2 separate regions of the Homo sapiens genome follow, and region 1 is linked to region 2. Evidence: promoter capture Hi-C in human tissues and cell types (Jung and others, 2019). All regions are on one chromosome and are shown on one strand. The core of a region is centred on a gene start or on the middle of the fragment in contact, and the rest is flanking DNA. Distances in the headings are between cores, read along the strand shown.

Region 1 (2,700 bases), core at 175-2,674, 260 kb after region 2:
GCTCACACCTGTAATCCCAGCATTTTGGGAGGCCAAGGAAGGAGGATCACTTGAGCCCAGGAGTTCAGGACCAGCCTGGGCATCACAGGGAGACCCCTGTCTTTACAAAACATTTACAAATTAGCTGGGTGTGGTGGTGCGCACCTGTAACCCAAGCTACTTGGGAGGCTGAGGTGAGAGGATCACTTGAGTCCAGGTATTCAAGGCAGCAGTGAGCTGTGATTGTGCTACTGCACTCCAGCCTGAGATACAAAGTGAGACCCCATCTCTTAAACAAACAGCAAAAAGCAAAAAAAATTATGTGGTTTTAAAGTAAAAATTGTAAAATAAGCCACATTCAAAGAAGTATAGTTTCCATCCCTGTACTCTCAACCTTGTTACCTTCCTCCCCTTGTAAAATCATTTTTCTGTCTATATATATGTTTGCACTCACCCCTTTTCTTAGAAAAAATGCTAACATACTCTCAACACTATTTTGCACTTCGCTTTTGTCACTTAACGGCATCCTCAAGATCACTGCATGACTGTACATAGAGCTCTTCCTCATTCCTTTTTCCAGTTGTATATGCTGCCTTGTGCTGCTCCACATTATTTACTTATTTTTTATCAGAACTGAAGTCTCCAGGTAGGTACATTCTTTCCAGACTTCATGAGGGGTAAGTTGGGAGGGTGAGAGAGGGAGCCAAACTTTTTTTATTTAAAAAAAGAAAAAAAGCTTGTAGGGATTGGTGGCCACGCTTGAATTTGAGTCTGTGAGGAACAGGGTTTGATTACTTGTTCGTTCTCAGTGGAGAATCTTCTCAGTGCTAAAGTTGGGGAATACTGGATAGATTTTTAATAAAAGAGGAAATTTCCTCACACCTGTTTATACCCTGCAGCTTCTTGGATAGAGGTAGGGCAGTTGCGGGCATCTGTGGCTGCTGCTAAGAACAGCCATAGCACACTCTGGAGGCAAACTACCTATTCTTGGTGGCAATTCCAAGGGATTGCTTCCACCTTCTTCCCTCTTTTTTTTTTTTTTCTCTTGAGACGGAGTCTCGCTCTGTCACCCAGGCTGGAGTACAGTGGCATGATCTCAGCTCACTGCAACCTCTACTTCCCAGGTTCAAGCTTTTCTCCTTTCTCAGCCTCCTGAGTAACTGGGATTACAGGCATGTGCCACCATGCCCGGCTAATTTTTTTTTTTTTGTATTTTTAGTAGAGACAGGGTTTCACCATGTTGGCCAAGCTGGTCTCGATCTCCTGAGCTCAAATAATCTGCCCGCCTCAGCCTCCCAAAGTGCTGGGATTACAGGCATGAGCCACTGCACCCAGCTCCTTTTCTTTTCTTTTACTATCTTTTAGCCTAGATGCATCACTCAGAAATAGAAGGTCTCTCCTCCCTCATCTTGCCCCCCACGACCCCCACCACTGTTTCTGATGGGAGTGTTTCCCCTGGAGGTCCACATATCCAGATCTCTGCTGTCCTTATCATGTCCAATGAGCGCTTCTCACTGAGGGAGTACAGCCATGAGCAAGGAACATTCCTTTGCCTTTGGGCCACAGACCCTGCTGTTTTTAAATGAAGGGTCGTTTTTAATTGTGTGTGGTCAAAGTGCTGGCTGTAATCCCAGCACTCCAGGAGGCTGAGGCAGGAGGATCATTTGAGGCCAGGAGTTTGAGACCAGCCTGGGCAACAATATACAGAGACCCCCATCTCTACAAAAAAAAAAAAAAATTAAGAAAAAAATAAATAAAACGAGGGGGTAGGCCTAGGTGATTTCTCAGTTTCCTTCTAGCTCTGGCTCTAGAATTTCTCCTACCCCATTCAGATAGTTTATATCTGAATCTATGCTTGACTCTACGCCAACGGGTGTGCATGTGTGAGCAGGGAGTGGGGAAGTGGATATAGATATTTTGTCTGTTTAAGTGCATCAACAGTTGGGAAGAATGTGAGGAGAGAAAGGGAGCCAGCAAGCCAGAACTACCACCACATGAGCTTGAACTCTGGGACTTGAGGGTAGGTCCCAGCGTCTGTCTGTTCCCCGCCGTCAACTCAGGGGCAGTCCTAGGATCCCAGCCTCTAAGCTGGGAGGCCTTCAGCTAGGCAGCACAGGATGGTGTTTCCCAATCTAGCTTGGTTTCTCTTGTTGAATGGAAACTACAGGCCATTTTGACTTCCTTTTGGAGGATTGTCTGAGTGTGGTTTATTGAAGAAAAACAAGCTTCCTGTGGAGGCGGCATCAGGTCTGTTACTCTCCCTTTGCACTTGATACTTGATGTGCTTGTTCTCCCACTTTGCAGCTGAAGGAATGTATCCGAGCACTGGATCAGGAACACACCCATACTCCCTTCAGGCAAAGCAAACTAACTCAGGTAAAGTTAAATGTGAGCCTTGAGTTTGTTCTGATTCATTCCTTTCTTCCTTATTTCATGTATTTGTTCATTCAGTCGAGCATCCACTGTCAGTAAGACATGATGCTGGGCACAGTGGGGAAAAGAGAAGGAGAGGAGTGAAATTCCATCCAGGAACTCTGTCTACAAGTTGAGTATCATTAATCTAAAAATCTGAAATCTGAAATGCTTCAAAAATCAAAACTTTTTGTTGTTGTTTTTGAGACAGGGTCTTACTCTGTCACCCAGGCTAGAGTGCAGTGGTGTGATCTTGGCTTACTGTGGCCTCTGCCTCCCAGGCTCAAGCAATCCTCCCACCTCAGCCTC
Region 2 (2,775 bases), core at 5-2,504:
GCATTACAACCATTTTACAGATGAGGAAGCTGAGGCTAAGAGAGATTTAGTAACTTGCTCAAGATCACAAAGTTAGTAAGTGAACCAGGAATCAATACTGCCCCGATTACAGTAGGCACTTAGTTATATGAGTCTAGGATTCCAGAGAGAAGTTAAGGCTAGACTTGGGAGCACTGGGAGTCTTCATGATATAGCTTCAGGGATGTGATCCTCCAAGGAGAGCATGTAGAGCGGGATGAGAAGACGGCCGGATCAGAATAGGTGACAATCACTGGCCTGTGAAGGTCGGGGAGGACAAGGTCTACCTCACTGCTCCTGTCCAAGCTATCTTCTTCTTAGGGGAGCTTTTAGGATGGCAAGGCAGGATTTCCACCACGCCTGCACCTATTCCAGCCAGGGCAGAACCATCGCTCAGGACACTCCATTTCTGTCCCAGACTCCCCAACAGCCTGGCAGCAAGCCTGCGACCAACACTGGGTAGGAACTCAGTAAATGTGTCCAAAGAACCTGTGTTGCCAGAGATTTTCACACCTCTTAGGGCCAGGGAACCTGGGGCCCTCTAAAGTGGGAATGCAGAGTCCACACCCAGGTGGCAGAGGGAAGTGCGGGACTGCACTATAGGCGGTTCCCTAGGTGAGGAGATTCAGTCTCCTGCCAGGTGTGGGGACGCGGGGCCTTCCTCCGGATGACTTACTTAAGAGACCTCTCCCAGATACAGAGGGGTGGTTTCCTCACATGTGGAAATGCAGAGGCCTTGGCCTTTCTCGGATGTGGGGTGTACAACCCTTCCAGGTGTAGAAGGTGCAAGAAATCCCTACCAGAGGTTAGGCCTTGCCCCCACCCCATCCCCTCTCCCGGGAAGGATCCAGGGCCAGCTACTCCTTCGGCCCTCCTCCCGCCCCGCGCCGGCACGAGAGGCGGGCTGGTCCCCACCTCAGCGCACCACCAATGGTGCGGGAACCGGGGTTCGGCCAGCCAATTGAGTGGCGGCAGCGGCGCTGGGATGGCTCCGCCCCCGGGCCGCAGGCCGCCGGCCTCCCAGGAGGCGAGGCTCTTCGCTGTTTTTGCTGGCCGCCGAGCCCGGCCGAGCCCAGCCGAACGTAGCCGAGCCCAGCCGAGCCCAACCGAACGCAGCCGAGCCCAGCCGAACACCGCGCAGCTCCCGCCGCCGCCGCCCGAGCGCTGCCGAGCGAGCGAGCGCCGCGGCCGCGGAGGAGGTGCGGCCCCAAGGGGAGGAGGTGCCCGCTCACCGCAGACCGCCCGCGGCAGAGGCCGCCCCGGTCGCGCCGCGGCGGGAGCGGCCGGTGGAGGCTGCGCGGCCGAGGGGGAGGGCCGGGGGAGCGGACGTCGCCTCTGCTGGTCTCCCACCTCCCGCCGCCCCCCGCCCGCAGGCTCCCAAGCCTTAGTCGGCGCCGAGCATCCCGCTGCCCCGGACCCTCCCGCGGGCGCGCACCAGGCTCAACTCAGGTAAGAAGGGCCTCCCGCCACGGGCACGGGGGCCAAGAACACGCGACCCGAAGATGGAGATAAAGAGACAGAGACACACTGCCGCGGAGAGAGACGAACACAAAGACAGAGACACAGGAACCACCGAAAAGACCCCACGGAGAAGGGGATAGGGACACGTCCATGGGAACAGAGGGGGATACAGCCTGGAAGAGAGAGAGAGACACAGAGACTGATGCAGAGATACACAGAGACACACTGGTAGAGAAATGAGACATAGAGGAGACATACTCAGAGATGGGGACACACGGAGAGGCAGCCACACACACAGAGGTGGGTGTGCAGAGGCACAGGCACACATCCAACGGAGGGACAGTGAGACACCAGACACACACACACACCTGACCCAGAGAGGCAGCCCCACATAGAGGCACACAGCCCTGGACGCACAGAGCCTGCACATGCCTGCCAGGGCCTCCACAAAGTTCCCTCTGTGCAAGCTGGCGCCTCTGGAGGTCTCCTGGTCGGGCTGGCTGGAGTCCTGGGAGAGAGGAGGCGCCCAGGCCACACCAGAGCTGCTTACAACCCCCATCCTTTTGGGCTGGGGGCTTCCTGGATCCCACCCACCAACAGAGGGCTTTTGAGGGCTGCAAGCTTGGTGGGCAGGACCAGGGCATGCCCACCAGGTCTAAGGAGAATGAGATGACGGCTGCCTACTGCAGCTTCCCCACGGTGGCTACACACTCATTCAGGTGGCCAGAACCAAGCCTGTGGATGGGGGTGATGGCTCTGTGGGGTATTCGAGCCTGTTGGGACCCAAGGTCTTTCACCAGGGAGGCCAGAAATGTGGGAGGGAGGCTCTCTTCCCTACCTCTCTCCTCCTAGGCCTCACCCCACCCTTCCTCCTCACCACCCTCTCCTTTACTGTATACCCCCAACAGGCTCAGGACTGCAGGTAGACATCTCCACTGCCCAGGAATCACTGAGCGTGCAGACAGCACAGCCTCCTCTGAAGGCCGGCCATACCAGAGTCCTGCCTCGGCATGGGCCTCACCATTGAGGCAGCTCCACTGTCTGTGCTGGTCTGAGGGTGCTGCCTGTCATGGGGGCAGCCATCTCCCAGGGGGCCCTCATCGCCATCGTCTGCAACGGTCTCGTGGGCTTCTTGCTGCTGCTGCTCTGGGTCATCCTCTGCTGGGCCTGCCATTCTCGCTCTGCCGACGTTGACTCTCTCTCTGAATCCAGTCCCAACTCCAGCCCTGGCCCCTGTCCTGAGAAGGCCCCACCACCCCAGAAGCCCAGCCATGAAGGCAGCTACCTGCTGCAGCC

The links. Contacts are between HindIII fragments. The study calls those that stand out against the background at their distance.
Region 1: a fragment that was not itself captured here is called in contact with the fragment with the promoter of ENHO in region 2 in 4 of the 25 tissues and cell types used here (adrenal gland, dorsolateral prefrontal cortex, heart right ventricle and 1 more).

The regions. Positions count from the first base shown.
Region 1 is chr9:34,262,756-34,265,455 of GRCh38, reverse strand. KIF24 (kinesin family member 24) reads left to right here. Exons shown (of 13, transcript NM_194313.4): 9 at 2,284-2,355. Among named protein-coding and RNA genes, the nearest start is that of KIF24, 65 kb to the left of the region's middle. The HindIII fragment of the contact is 4,375 bases long and covers 1-2,700 here.
Region 2 is chr9:34,521,469-34,524,243 of GRCh38, reverse strand. It overlaps ENHO (energy homeostasis associated), which reads left to right and starts at 1,254. Exons shown (of 2, transcript NM_198573.3): 1 at 1,254-1,467; 2 at 2,388-2,775. The coding sequence starts at 2,549. RefSeq lists silencers at 829-1,198, 1,219-1,328 and an enhancer at 1,958-2,510. The HindIII fragment of the contact is 6,325 bases long and covers 1-2,775 here.